Linked DNA regions of Homo sapiens: all the other regions are linked to region 2. The links are contacts of gene promoters, found by promoter capture Hi-C in blood cells and fetal thymus (Javierre and others, 2016). All regions are on one chromosome and are shown on one strand. Each heading gives the region's core, a stretch centred on a gene start or on the middle of the fragment in contact. The rest is flanking DNA. Distances are from core to core; before and after follow the strand shown. Region 1 holds the start of MAP3K10 (mitogen-activated protein kinase kinase kinase 10). Region 2 holds the start of FBL (fibrillarin). Region 3 holds the start of AKT2 (AKT serine/threonine kinase 2).

Region 1 (4,150 bases), core at 1,267-3,766, 340 kb before region 2:
GGCCATGGCTGGGGCGCCCTCCGCAGGAGCAAGAAAAAAAACCCTTTCAAAGGGCAGGCTCGTCCCTTCCGATTTGGCTGTACGGGCGGGGCGGGGCGGGGTGGGAGTGGGGCGGCAGGTTCACCCGTGCCCCCCAAACGGCAGAGGGCTAAGAGGGCCTGGCCGCGCGGCTCTCGAATGCCCGCCGGGGTCCGCCGGTGGGGGACGAGGGCGAGGGCGGCAGGCAGTCCCCGTTCCCCGCGCCGCTCACCCCGCGCAGCTCCACCGGCGGCCCCCGGCTCCGCATCCCGGGCCACGACTGCCGGGCCGGGCGGGGGTGGCGGGGCCCCTGGGGCGGCCGCCCCGGGCCGGGGTGGCGCGCCCCTCGGCCTCCTCACGCGCGGGGCAGCCGGGCGGCCCCCATCCTTGGCACCGGCCTCCCGGTCGGCCCCAGCCCCTGCCCCCCGCCCGTGCTGCTTCCCCGGGCCACCGGCGGGGCCCGAGTGACGTGTGGGCGCCGCCGCCGCGGTGCCTCCTGGGAGTTGTAGTCTCCGGCCGTGCGGCCTCGGGGCCCGGCTCTCAGCGCCCTCCAGCAGAGCCCCGCGGCCAGCCTCGGGCCGCAATGGACATGACACCCCACGAAGCCGAAGGAGTCCTCCCGGGGAGATGAGCCCGGCCTCGGCCCCTCCTTCGGACGCGGCGTAGCGGGCGCCCGGGGCGGGGGGAAGCGCTCCTCACAGACCCTGTGGGGGCCGCGGCCCAGGATGGGTTGGACTGCAACGGACGCGATTAGCAACGCGAAAAATAGGAGCTGCGTGCATGACTGTGACTGCCCGGAGCCGCGAACGCAGCCTGGACCTTATCCCTGAGGCAGGACGGCCCCTCGGACCCCCCGACCGAGATGTACGCTGGGAACTGTAGTCCGCGCGGGGACCTGGCGCTGCAGGGGGCGGCCCCCAAACAGCGGGCTGCGGGCGTCGGCGGGTGGTTGGAGCAAGTTAGGGGTCGGGCCGGTGGCGGGACTCTGCGGGGAAGATGGGGCTGGGAGGATGTGTTTAGTGTCCCTGGGGATGTCACAGCCACGTCTGCTTTCCCCACCAGCTCTGGGTTCCTCTGCTGAAGTCAGAACTCCTGCTCTTGAGAATCCCCGATTCCTATTTTATAGGAGTTTCAATTTCGGGGAGCTTAATGTGCATGTTGTATTCAGTGCTTTGTACACGTGGTATCGTTAAGTCTTCACAAAGAGCCCCATTTTACAGATGACTCATAGAGAAGTGAAGTCATTTGTGCAAGGCTACAGAGCTATAAATGGCAAAGCAAAAATGAAAGGCAGTTTTAAAAATTAACAACCAGGCCGGGCGCGGTGGCTCACGCCTGTAATCTCAGCGCTATGGGAGGCCAAGGCGGGCGGATCACGAGGCCAGGAGTTCGTGACCAGCCTGGCCAGCATGGTGAAACCCCCGTCTCTACTATTTAAAAAAAAAAAAAAAAATTAGCCGGGCGTGGTGGTGTGCGCCTGTAATCTATCCCAGCTACTCGGGAGGCTGAGGCAGGAGAATCGCTTGAACCTGGGAGGTGGAGGTTGCAGTGAGCCAAGATCACGCCACAGCACTCCAGCCTGGACGACAGGGCAAGACTCCGTCTCAAAATAAATAAATAAATAAATAACCATCGCCACGATTAACAAAAACAACAACAACAAAAAAAAAAACAACAAAAAACAAACAAACAAAAAACCCACTGCCTTTCTATTTAAAGAATGAGGAAAGTAGGTCCCGCAGAGGTTCAGTGACTTCTTCAAGATCTCTAAGCTTGTAAGAGGCAAAATTCTGGGTCTTTTTACTTGGCCTCTCCTGAGTGGTATGGGGTCTAGAGGGAGGAGAGAAGAAGAGGAAATAAGAGGGACTCTAGTGCCCAAACTCCAGAGAACTGCCCCTCAGGGTCCTTGGGGAATTGTTCCATTGTCAGAGGGAAGTGGGTTACCTGGTCTCCTGGCTACCTAGCAGGGACACTCGGAGCATATCAAAAATGCTTGTTGGAAGAGAGAGCCCCAGCTTCATTCTGAGTATAAGTGTTTCTGCTATAACCTGCTATATGCATTCTTAAAAAACCTTCAGTTCTTCAAAACGGTGCACTAAAATTAACAAGACTTCATGGAAAAAATAGAGTTAGAGACAGATTGCTCAAAATATATGCAACTAGCTGGGCACGGTGGCTCATGCCTGTAATCCCAGCACTTTCAGAGGCCGAGGAGGGAGAATTACTGGAGTCCAGGAGTTTCAGACTAGCCTGGGCAACATAGGGAGACTCCGTCTCTACAAAAAAATAAAAAATTAGGCGGGTGTGGTGGTGTGCACCTGTGTTCCCAGCTACTCGGGAGACTGAGGTATAGGGGTATTACCTGAGCCCAGGAGGTCGAGGCTACTGTGAGCTGTGATTGTGGCACTGACTGCACTCCAGCCTGAGAGACAGAGCGAGACCCTGACTCAAAAAAAAAAAAGTAAAAATAAAAACCTGTATACAACTTTTTTTTTTTTTGAGATGGAGTCTCACTCTGTTGCCAGGCTGGAGTGCAGTGGCACGGTCTTGGCATACCACAACCTCCGACTCCCTGGTTCAAGTGATTCTCCTGCTTCAGCCTTCCGAGTAGTTGGAATTACAGGTGGGCGCCACCATGCCCAGCTAATTTTTGTATTTTTAGTAGAGACAGGGTTTCACCATGTTGGCCAGGATAGTCTCGATCTCCTGACCTCGTGATCCGCCCGCCTTGGCCTCTCAAAGTGCTGGGATTACAGGTGTGAGGCACCATGCCCGGCCTCTTGTATACAACTTTATATTCAGAGTGCTACAAAACCAATAATGATGCTAATAGAAACACTAGAATAGGTAAATTTCCATGAGCATTTGCTTTCAGCAGCACTTTGCAGCCTTGAAGGTGGGGCTTATGCTTCCTCTTTGGGGATGCTGGTTGGAGATATTAACTATTGATGGGGATCATTTTCATCAAAACTCGAAATGTGATCCAAGGTGTGATCTTTTTCATTAATCTGTTATTTTAATATGGGAGAAATATATTTGCAATTTCTTCATCTGCATTCATGGATTTGCCATAGGCATAACACTGTGACAAATATGGTGGTCTTTGAAGTCACTAAACCAGCCACCGTGGATCCAAAGGAAGACACTTCTGTAGATTTGCAGCTTTTTCCTCTGAAGATCTTCTTTTAGTACTAAGGCTTCCCCTTTAACTGTGAGAAAGCTTGGCCCTGATTGCTTCAAAATGTTAACTTCCTGGAGAAAATTGCATGTTAACCAACATGCTTGTGTTATGCTGACATCATTACTCTGTTTACCAATCATTTATGGGGTGATTCATCTCAAAGAAGCAAATAGAGGGTGGGGGCGGTGGCTCACACACCTGTAATCGCAGCACTTTGGGAGGCTGAGGCAGGCAAATCACCTGAGGTCAGGAGTTTGAGACCAGCCTGGACAACATGGTGAAACCTCATCTCTACTAAAAATACAAAAATTAGCCAGGCGTGGTGGCAGGTGCCTGTAATCTCAGCTACTCAGGAGGCTGAGGCAGGAGAATCGCTTGAACCTGGGAGGCGGAGGTTGCAGTGAGCCGAGATCGAGCCAGTGTACTCTAGCCCGGACGACAGAGGGAGACTCTGGAAGAAGCAAATGGGCTGCAGAACAGGTTGTCTCTGGGCCCGGTGCGGTGGCTCACGCCTGTAATCCCAGCACTTTGGGAGGCCAAGGCGGGTGGATCACAAGGTCAGGAGTTCAAGACCAGCCTGGCCAACATGGTGAAACCCTGTCTCTACTAAAAATACAAATTTAGTCAGGGCATGGTGGCAGTCACCTGTAATCCCAGCTGCTCGGGAGGCTGAGGCAGGGGAATCGCTTGAACCGGGTGGCAGAGGTTGCAGTGAGCCGAGATTGCGCCACTGCACTCCAGCCTGGTGACAGAGTGAGACTCCATCTCAAAAAAAAAAAGAAAAAAAATTATCTTGGATTTGGCTGCCTTGTTGAACTCACTCTTGCTTGTTCTAGAATAGCTTGACAGATAATTCTCTTCGATTTTCTAGCTAGATGATCCTGTTGTCCAGAAAAAAGAAAAAAATTACAGCTTTAAAAAATCTGATGTCTATGCTTTTTTTCTTAATCC
Region 2 (4,153 bases), core at 427-2,926:
GGTGCAGTCATGGCTCATTTCAGCCTAGACCTACTGGGCTCAAAGGATCCTCCTGCCTCAGCCTCTTGAGTAGCTGGGACTACAGGTGCAAGCAACCATACCCAGCTAATTTTTTATTTTTTGTAAAGATAAGGTCTCACTCTGTAGCCCAGGCTGGCCTTAAGCTCCTGGGCTCAAGCGATCCTCCTGCCTCGGCCTCCCAAAGTGCCTGGATTACAGGTGTGAGCCACTGCCCCGACCGGTTCTGAAAAGTTTAAGCAGATTTTCCATCATAATATCTAAACAATCTTTCAGGAATGTTTCTGTGCAAATTGGTGGCATTCCACAGCTGGAACACTGTACACAGAGAACTCACAACGGTATGAGGCCATCCATTCATTCAACAAACATTTACTGGGCACCCAGAGGGCTGTCCTAGGCCTAGAGTGATAGAGCAGTGAATGGAACAGAGTCAACATCTAGGCTCTGGACTGGTAGGTTCTTCTGGAGTTTTTCGGTAACTTCTCATAACAGCAGTTGTCTTGCTTTGCAGAATGAATATAGGGATGGATACTGATATTACACAATTACAAAGCCCAAAATTCTTAATACTTAAGCAGAATCTGTTGACCCCTGACGCCGCTCTCTGCCCCCACTCTGATCTGTCCATCCTTTTCTTCTGATTCACGGCAGCAGCCAGTCCTTGGTTTTCCTGCTTTCACCCTCACTCCTGCAGTCTGCTTCCCACATGCAGCCAGAGGGACCTGTGTCAGATCACATTCCTTCTCTGCTTGGAACCCTTCCATGGTTCCATCTTACTGCCTAAGTCCTCACTATGTCCCACAAAGCTCCGCACAATCTGCCCTTGTTAGCTACCCGCCCTTATCTCCTCTTACTCTCCACCTTGCTCACTTTGCCCCACCCACCCTCCTCATTGTCTCTCCAACTTCCCATATCTTTCCTTCCTCAGGGCCTCTGCATCTGCAGATCTTTTCCCTGCCTGGAACTCTCTTCCCCTAGATAGGTGCATGCCTCACTCCTCACTTCCTTCAGCCCTTTAGCTCAAAAGTCTCCTGATGCATTCCTTGACCACCGTGCCAAAAAAACAAAAATCATTTGCCCTCCAAAATCTCTATCCCCTTTCCCTGCTGTTATTTTCTCCAAAGCACTTATCGCTTTCAAACATTCAACATGTTTGGTGTCTATTTCCTCCATTAAAAAGATGAACTCCAGGAGAGTGGAGATTTTTATGTCTCGTACACCGCTGTATTCCCAGCTCCTAGAACAGCACCTGGTACACACGAGGTGCACTGTAAATGTTTTTCGGATGTTTGAATGGAAGCCCAGAGTCGGTCACTGTTCTTGGGGCTGGAAATGTATTGGGGAAGCCTTTTTGGGTGTACAGGGGCCAGAGGGATTTAGCTAGGAATACAAAAGAGGGCACAGCCCGTGCGAAGGCTATGAGCCCTGATTATTGGGGTGCTCGCATTGGGGAAGAGGAAACCGGAAGCGAGTTTAGGGCGACCGCTGCACAGGCAAAGGCTGGGAAGGCAGAGAGCGAGGGCAGCGGGTTGCGTGTCGACAGGCTCGAGAATCCAGGCTCACTGCGCGTGCGCCGAGCTCCGGGCGGGGAAGGGGCCCGGGGGCGGGACTACGGGGTGGCGTCACGCAGCGCACGTCGCCGCGCGCCTGCGCTCTTTTCCACGTGCGAAAGCCCCGGACTCGTGGAGTTGTGAACGCCGCGGACTCCGGAGCCGCACAAACCAGGGCTCGCCATGAAGCCAGGTCAGGCTGGGGTGAGGGTCCGGGGTCAGGGACGGAGGCCGGGCGGGAATCCGGGTGCCAGGCCAGAATCGGAGGGGTGGGGCCTTGGCCTGGGGGCAGGGGTTCTGAGCACGGGTTCCAGTCTCCTGTGGGAAGGGGGATTCTGATTCCAGCAGGTCTAGGGGTTTGTGACTGGCTTCAGAGGTCACGGTCGTGAGTCGAAGAAGGCCGTGGGCCTGGCATTGGGGGTGTTGACGTGGGGTTCGTCTCATTGAGGCCGTCTAATAGGGATTTTGGATATTGGGCAGGAGGCGGCACTCAAGGGTCTTGGGCTAGAGTTTGGATTCAGGCATCTGGAGTCTTGGATCGCTGGGCGTGTTTTGGGAATCAGGCTTGGGTCGGAGATGGAGAGTTCCTGACCTTGGGTCCTGGAGCTGTGTGTGGGAAGCCCCCATTTGCCTTCCCTGTCGCTGCCACCACCACCATCCCCTTATCCCGCATCCCAGCTTTTCCGAGTGGGCCGGAGTGGATGAGGACTCCCCGGTTGGCCGTGTGCGGCGCTCTTCGGCTCACTTTCCCGCCTTCTGCACTTACAGTGGGGCGGATCCCCGGGGATGGAGTGGAGATTTGGGGATTAAGATTTCCACCTCCGGGACGAGACTTAACAAGCTCGGCATTAGTCTGGGGTGGTGGGGCGGGTGGTTGTCACAGGAGGTAAGTAGTTTTATTCTTAAGATTTTCCACTAGATTCTGCTGAAACCACTCCCTTCATGGTGGAATGATGAGGGGGTCCTGGCTTTGACAGCAGAAGGGCCTCAGTTCAGTGTGTCAGCTCTTGCTCAGCTTCTTAGCCTGCTGTGTGAACTTGGGCAAGTGGCTTTACCTCTCTGAGCCTCTGTTTTCTCATCAATAAAATGGCGCCAGTTAGGATTAAGCGACGTTAAAAAAAATAGCACAGTGCTTGACATATAATAGTATTAGCTCTAATTGTTACCTTTATCTTTCTCAAAGAGAACAACATTAGAATCCTTCTCGGTGGTGCCTGAGCACTTCCTCCATCTGGCCTGCCCAACCCGCACTCATCTGTGTGAGAACTTGCTTCATTGAGTTTGGAGAATTTCCACCATGGCCCAAAGGGTCTGTTTTCCTAGTACAGGCTTTCTTTTTCTTTTGTGTGTGTGTTTGTGTGGAGAGATGGGGGTCACCTGGCAGGAGATTTGTGGATCTGTGCCCTTCTCCCAAGTTCCCTTTCTCTTCCGTGTTTGGGGATCTCTTGATGAAGTGGGGTGGGGGATTGTAGGCCAGGTATGCTGAGATCCTGGCTTGCCTGCAGGCATTCTGGTCTGTGATTCCCTCATAAATGGAGGATACCCGTTCTTCCAACCTTCCTCCATGTGTGGTAGAATGTGAAGTTGTAAAAGTTGTCAGGTGTTAGCTCTTTAGTAAGGATTTTAGCCTGAGTGAGAAAAGAACCCTTTGGGAGATTTTTGAGCAGGGGCGTGGTGCAGTCTGACATTTTTAAAAGGGATTCTTTTTGCTTCGATGTGTGAAAGACCTCAGGGTGGCAAAAGTGGAAGCAGGCACATTGGTGGGAAGCTTGTTGCTGTAATCTAGGAGATGGTGTGGTGGACCAGGATGGGAGCAGTGGACATGCTGACAGTTTTACATGCTTTTGAAGACAGAACCAACAGATTGTATGTGGGTGTGTGATCGGAGTCAAGGATAACCAAGGGTTTGGGGGTGTGTAACTGGAAGGATGGAATTGCCATTTTTGAGATGGAGAAGGCTGTGGAAGGAGAGCAGATTTTAAATCAGGGGGTTTATGGACCCCCCTCCCCCCAAAAAAAGAACTTACTGGAAAAGTTTGTGTGAACATGTGTTTTTTCTGAGGACTGGGTACTTTTGGTACATTTTCCCCCAAAAGCTCCAGGACCTGAAACGGATTGAGATGTTTTGAGTATCTGGGATTGAAAGTTTACACTCATGCCCACTCCGCCCCAAGCACATGCCAGTACTTCCTTTCTGTTAGGCCTGGGTTGAGACTTTCATAAGCCTAGCTGTGGCATCTCCCCTAAATGAAGGTCTTGGCTTTGGAAAACTGTTGGAGGGCTTGGGCAAGAAAATTGAGATCTGAGTTGCTGTTTCAAAAACAGCACTTATTAGTTGCTGTGTGGAAAGTGGACTGTAGGGGGAGTAGAACATTAAAAAGTGAACAACTCTTAGTTATGTTCTAGAGTTTTGAAAAGGAAACTTCATTTTAAAAGATCAAATTAGGAGTAGCTATTAAAAGTTACATTTTCATCTTTAATAGAAAGATGAAAAAAGAACTAACTGGAAAAGTTTGTGTGAACATGTGTTTTTTCTGAGGAATGGGTACTTTTGGTACATGAGGAGGGAAGAGGAGACGCGT
Region 3 (4,642 bases), core at 621-3,120, 440 kb before region 2:
CCCTTGACTACCAGTGCTGCAAGGAGTTTATACACAAGCACATGGGTGGTTTCAGTGAGATCTCAGTGTGTCATAATTAAGTGCCCTAGGAGGGGCTAGGATTCAAGTTGGCCCAGGGGAGACTTAGACGTAGGGGAATGGCCTGTGAGCTGTTCAGTGTGGACAGGAGTGAAGAGGGTTGGTCACAGTAACCTTGAGTCTAGATTAGGGCAGAAGGGCTAATGCTTGAAACAAACATTCTGCAAGAGCCCACTCTGGGCAATGTTGGATACACACTGATCTCTGAGACAGTCTTGGTCTCTTCCTTTACTGTGTTTCCTGTGCAGTGGGGGAAACAGACCTGTCACCAGACAGTAATAGATGAAAATGGTTAGGGCTGTGAAGGGGGAGGCATTGGTCAGAGTTATTAACACCGACTGATGGGGAAGACCGGGAATTAGGAATACCAAGCAGCAAGTTCCAAGCTAGAAACCAAATAAGAAAGGGCTAGTTCCAGCATTAGGTTTACGTCTCAGAAAACGAAAGCCGAACCCTCAGCAGGATTTGCCTGAAACACTCTCACAGACTGAGGTGGACCCAGGATTCAACTCTCAGTCAGGCATTTTTCTCACTTACCAATGCATACAATTGCCAAGTTATATGGCATACTGGAACCCAAATTCAGGAGGCAGCACAATCCCCTATGAGAGAGGAGGGGCTGGGAGCCAGATGTCTCACAGCTGTCCAGTATACTAGCTAATATACGGATTAGGATCTGTGCAAAGCTCTTTTCTTGCAGGGTCATTTTTTTTCTTTTTTCTTTCTTTTCTTTTTTTTTTTTTTTTTTGAGACGGAGACTTGCACTGTCGCCCGGGCCGGAGTGCAATGGCATGATCTCGGCTCACTGAAACCTCTGCCTCCCGGGTTCACGCGATTCTCCTGCCTCAAGCCTCCCAAGTAGTTGGGATTACAGGCACACACCGACATGCCCGGCTTTTTTTTTTTTTTTTGTATTTTGAGTAGAGACGGGGTTTCACTATGTTGGCCAGGCTGTCTCGAACTCCTGACCTCATGATCCGTCTGCCTTGGCCTCCCCAAGTGCTAGGATTACAGGAGTGAGCCACCGCGCCCGGCCGCAGGGTGATTTTAAGGCCTTTATGGGCCCAAGTTGCATTATAAAATGTTATATCCCAGATTCACTGGAATATGTACGATGAGAGCAGGTGGCATTAATATCTTGCAGTAATGAACTAATTGGTAAAAACCGTTTTGTTTACATTAAAATGGTTCAAAAGCCAGCGACACAGCGATGATTGTTTCCATTTAGCAGATGTGGATACTGAGGCACAGAAAACGGTCAAGCCTTCTGCCCACAGTCACCAGAAAGGAGGAAATTCAAGTCTGGGGTTGTGTGGCTTCAGAGCCTGAGCTCAACCATGACGAGCACACTGAAAAGGAAACCCCTCCTAACTAACTCCCGCTCCGGGGTCCTTTAAGAGCGTCAGAACCCAGAACTGAGTAAAACAAGATCAAAGCGTATGTAAATACGGACTAGGGGCTGCCGGGAAATAATCACTACGGCTAGGCCCTAGGGAAAGCAGACGTCGGAGTCCTAGTGCGCCTGCGTAGCCCCATCTCGCCTTTCCGCCCCACGGCCTAGCGAGGCCCATCTCTAACCCACACAGGCCCAAAGTTGTCTAATGTGCGCAGGCGCCCTGCTGTGAGCCCGCCTCCTTCTCTGCCCTGCTCTTGCGCTCTCGCTCTCTCAGAGTTCGTCTCTGGCTCTTTGTACGTCACTTCCTGTTTGTGGCGCGAGAGGGCGGTATTTCCGTCCAGAGGGTGGGAGGGGGCGGTAAGCGGGGGCTGGGGGGAGGGGGCGGGGGGGGCCGCGCCGTGCTAGCCGTTGGGCCTGCCTCGGAGGAGGCGTCGCCGCCGCCGCTGCCGCTGCCGGCGCCGTTGCCGCTGCCGGGAAACACAAGGAAAGGGAACCAGCGCAGCGTGGCGATGGGCGGGGGTAGAGCCCCGCCGGAGAGGCTGGGCGGCTGCCGGTGACAGGTGAGTGCGCCAGCGCGTGTCCCCGAACGCCCCCCCCACGATGGTCGCGTCCGGGCCCCCCGCGGTGCCGCGATGGGCTGTACCACCCGTGCCCGGCGGGGGGACCGCGGCCCTCGAGCCCCTCCTTCAGGAGCTGAGTGGGGGTGGCCGAGCGGGGGCGGTGGGACCAGCCTCGGGGGGCCGGGGCGGTGGCGGCGGGCCATACCACTGAGGCGGTGGGGGGAGCGCTGCAAGTTTGCGGGACGGGGAGCGCAGGCCGCAGCGTGCGCGGGCCGGGGGCTGGACCTTTCGGGCGCGGCGGGCAGATCGAGCCTGGCGTGCGCGGGCTAAGCTATCGAGGGGGCGCGCCGCATCAAGTGTAGAGGGCTGTACCTTTTTGGCGCTGTGGAAGCCGTTGCTGTGCTGTATTTACAGGGGTGGGGGCTTCTGGGGAGGATGCTTCCCCAACTGTGGCTGGGTTATATCACCACGGCGTTGGGGGAGCCCTGCTTAGAACGTAGGGGAACCCAAATCAGAGGACTGTGATGTTTGTGATCTTTAAGGGACTGGGACGGGGCGGGACAGGCCCTAGTGGGTTTTAGGGGCGTATTTTGGGAGGACTGTGATGCCGATTGGTGAGGAGGGGTTTCTGTTTCCTGTATTTGACGTGTGTGGCGTTGGGGGTTTACACTGATCTCAGCCTTTATTGAACTTCTTAACGACTCTGGAGGGAACGTCATGGTTACTGGGGTGCTTTGGACCATGGAGGTGCTGCTCTGGATTCCATTACCCTCTCAGATTATTTACCAGGCAGTAACAGTTCTTTCCTTCCATAGGGGAGGGAGGAAAGCTGTGTTAGAAGTCACTGAAGTTGTCTGAGCCTTAACATTCTGAAGAGGAAGAGGGATTGGGCTTGGATTTGAGGAGCCGTGCCCCTGCACCCGCTTGTTAAAACTTGGGAGGAAGGAGTGTTTGGGGGAACACCTCTTCCCCCCAGGGAAGCTCTCTGGGGGCATCTTGATCTTGGGATTGTGAGGACCTCTTCCTCTCATTTGGAGACCTCTTGGGGCTCAGCAAGACGCCTGGGCTGGAGTAACTAGAGCCTCCAATGGGCTGCTTTTCAACTTCATCCACTCCTACCTTCCCAGAGAAGCAGCAGGAGTTCACTCGTGGGCTGAACTTGGTTGGCAGTGGATGTGAAGGGTCCAGGAACCAACGCAGACCACTACATGCTCCTCTGTCGCTGGCCACGAAGCTGTTTGTGTCTCCCAGTTACCAGCTCGGTCACACATCATGTTTACACTCCCCACCAAGGCAGTAACAGTTGGCCTTGCAGTGAGGCCGGGAGCTGTTTTCCCAGCTGTTCCTCTTTGCATAGGCCAAGGGGACTTGGAGTGGGGGTGCCCCTGGCCCAGCCTGGCCCAGGGAGGAAGGCTGCTCTGAAGGGCTTGGGACAGTCAGATCCCCCATGGATCTGGTGTCTTATTGTGGTCTGTGGGCTGGTGCTGGGAGCAGCCAGCCCCAGAGGTCTGTGGCCAGTGTCCCTGCTCCCTAGGCCAGATCATGACCTTGGCTTGCCCTGTAGCCTTTGCTCTGGGTCTGGAGTTCCCAGAGGACTGGCTGCAGTCCCTGATTGACCCAGCAGACCTGGGCTGGTGATGTGGTCAGAGGGGGCAGATGGTTGCCCCTAGTCCGCAGCAGTGACTTCCAAGCTGACTGGCTTCCGTGGCTCGTGGTTCCTGGAGAGAAAGGTCCCACAGTCTGTGAGGCAGCGGCGACTCTGTAGAATCTTTCTCCACTAGGGGTTTGTTCCTCTGGTCCTCTCCTGCCAGCTTTTAGAGGGTTTGCCTGATGGGGCTAACAGTGGCAGTGAAAACAGTAATCATGAAATTGATGGCTGACAGTAACTGAGTGCATTCTGTGGGCCACACACTGTTTGGAATGCTTCATATAGATAAACTTGCTGAATACTTGAATTCTAGAGCGGTAGGCGCTGTTGTTATGCTCTCCCTTTTAGATGAGAAAACAGCATCTCAGAGAGGCAGATCATTTCCAGAGCTAGTGGATGCCCAGTGTTTATAGCATTCACCCCATGCCAGGCGTGTGACAGGGCTTTTGTACATGTGATCTCACTTAAGTCTCAAAACATACCTGTGGTTAGGCCTATTTTATGGAGAGCTACGAGCTAGTTAGAAGTGTGATACCATTTTACAGATGAGGAATCATTTCACTCACTGTGAAGTGCAAAGATTTCCCAGAGGTCTCATAGCTGAAGTGGGAGAGGTGTGATGTGAGCCCTTGGCCAACCTTGGCCTCAGATCGTCTTGTCAAGGAGAAACTGGAGGAGTGGCTTTTGTCTGTGAGCATATACTCTGCCCAGCCCTGTGCTTTGGGCTTTATATGGTATTTGTGTCCTTTTTTGCAGAGTCCGAAATTGAAGTTCAGAGGAAGAATTGCCTTCCACCGCATCTTATCAGACCCTATGGGTGCCAGGGTAGGATTTGAACCCAGGTCACTGAGCCCCTAGTGCCATGCATTCCTTGCTCACCAGGTTCCAGGCTGGGTGAAAGGAAGGAAAGACATAGGATAGAGTCACCTCTGTCCTCTGTCCTCTACCTATAGAGGTGAC

Evidence for each region. The method cuts DNA at HindIII sites, captures the fragments that hold promoters and counts their contacts. A CHiCAGO score of 5 or more calls a contact.
Region 1: a fragment that was not itself captured here is called in contact with the fragment with the promoter of FBL in region 2 in 6 of 17 cell types (fetal thymus, neutrophils, total B cells and 3 more); the score reaches 8.3 in fetal thymus.
Region 3: a contact is called between the fragment with the promoter of AKT2 here and the fragment with the promoter of FBL in region 2, in 17 of 17 cell types (neutrophils, monocytes, total B cells and 14 more). The highest score is 18.9, in neutrophils.

What each region holds. Positions count from the first base shown.
Region 1 is chr19:40,187,763-40,191,912 of GRCh38, reverse strand. It overlaps MAP3K10 (mitogen-activated protein kinase kinase kinase 10), which reads right to left and starts at 487. Exons shown (of 10, transcript NM_002446.4): 1 at 1-487. RefSeq lists silencers at 1-89, 360-859 and an enhancer at 1,020-1,259. The HindIII fragment of the contact is 1,448 bases long and covers 1,793-3,240 here.
Region 2 is chr19:39,843,902-39,848,054 of GRCh38, reverse strand. It overlaps FBL (fibrillarin), which reads left to right and starts at 1,676. Exons shown (of 9, transcript NM_001436.4): 1 at 1,676-1,764. The coding sequence starts at 1,755. RefSeq lists an enhancer at 2,131-2,871. The HindIII fragment of the contact is 4,240 bases long and covers 1-3,341 here.
Region 3 is chr19:40,282,573-40,287,214 of GRCh38, reverse strand. AKT2 (AKT serine/threonine kinase 2) reads left to right here and starts at 1,870. Exons shown (of 14, transcript NM_001626.6): 1 at 1,870-2,034. It overlaps MIR641 (microRNA 641), which reads left to right and starts at 4,574; the gene lies at 4,574-4,642. RefSeq lists enhancers at 718-1,549, 2,706-2,845 and a silencer at 1,836-2,335. The HindIII fragment of the contact is 30,037 bases long and covers 1-4,642 here.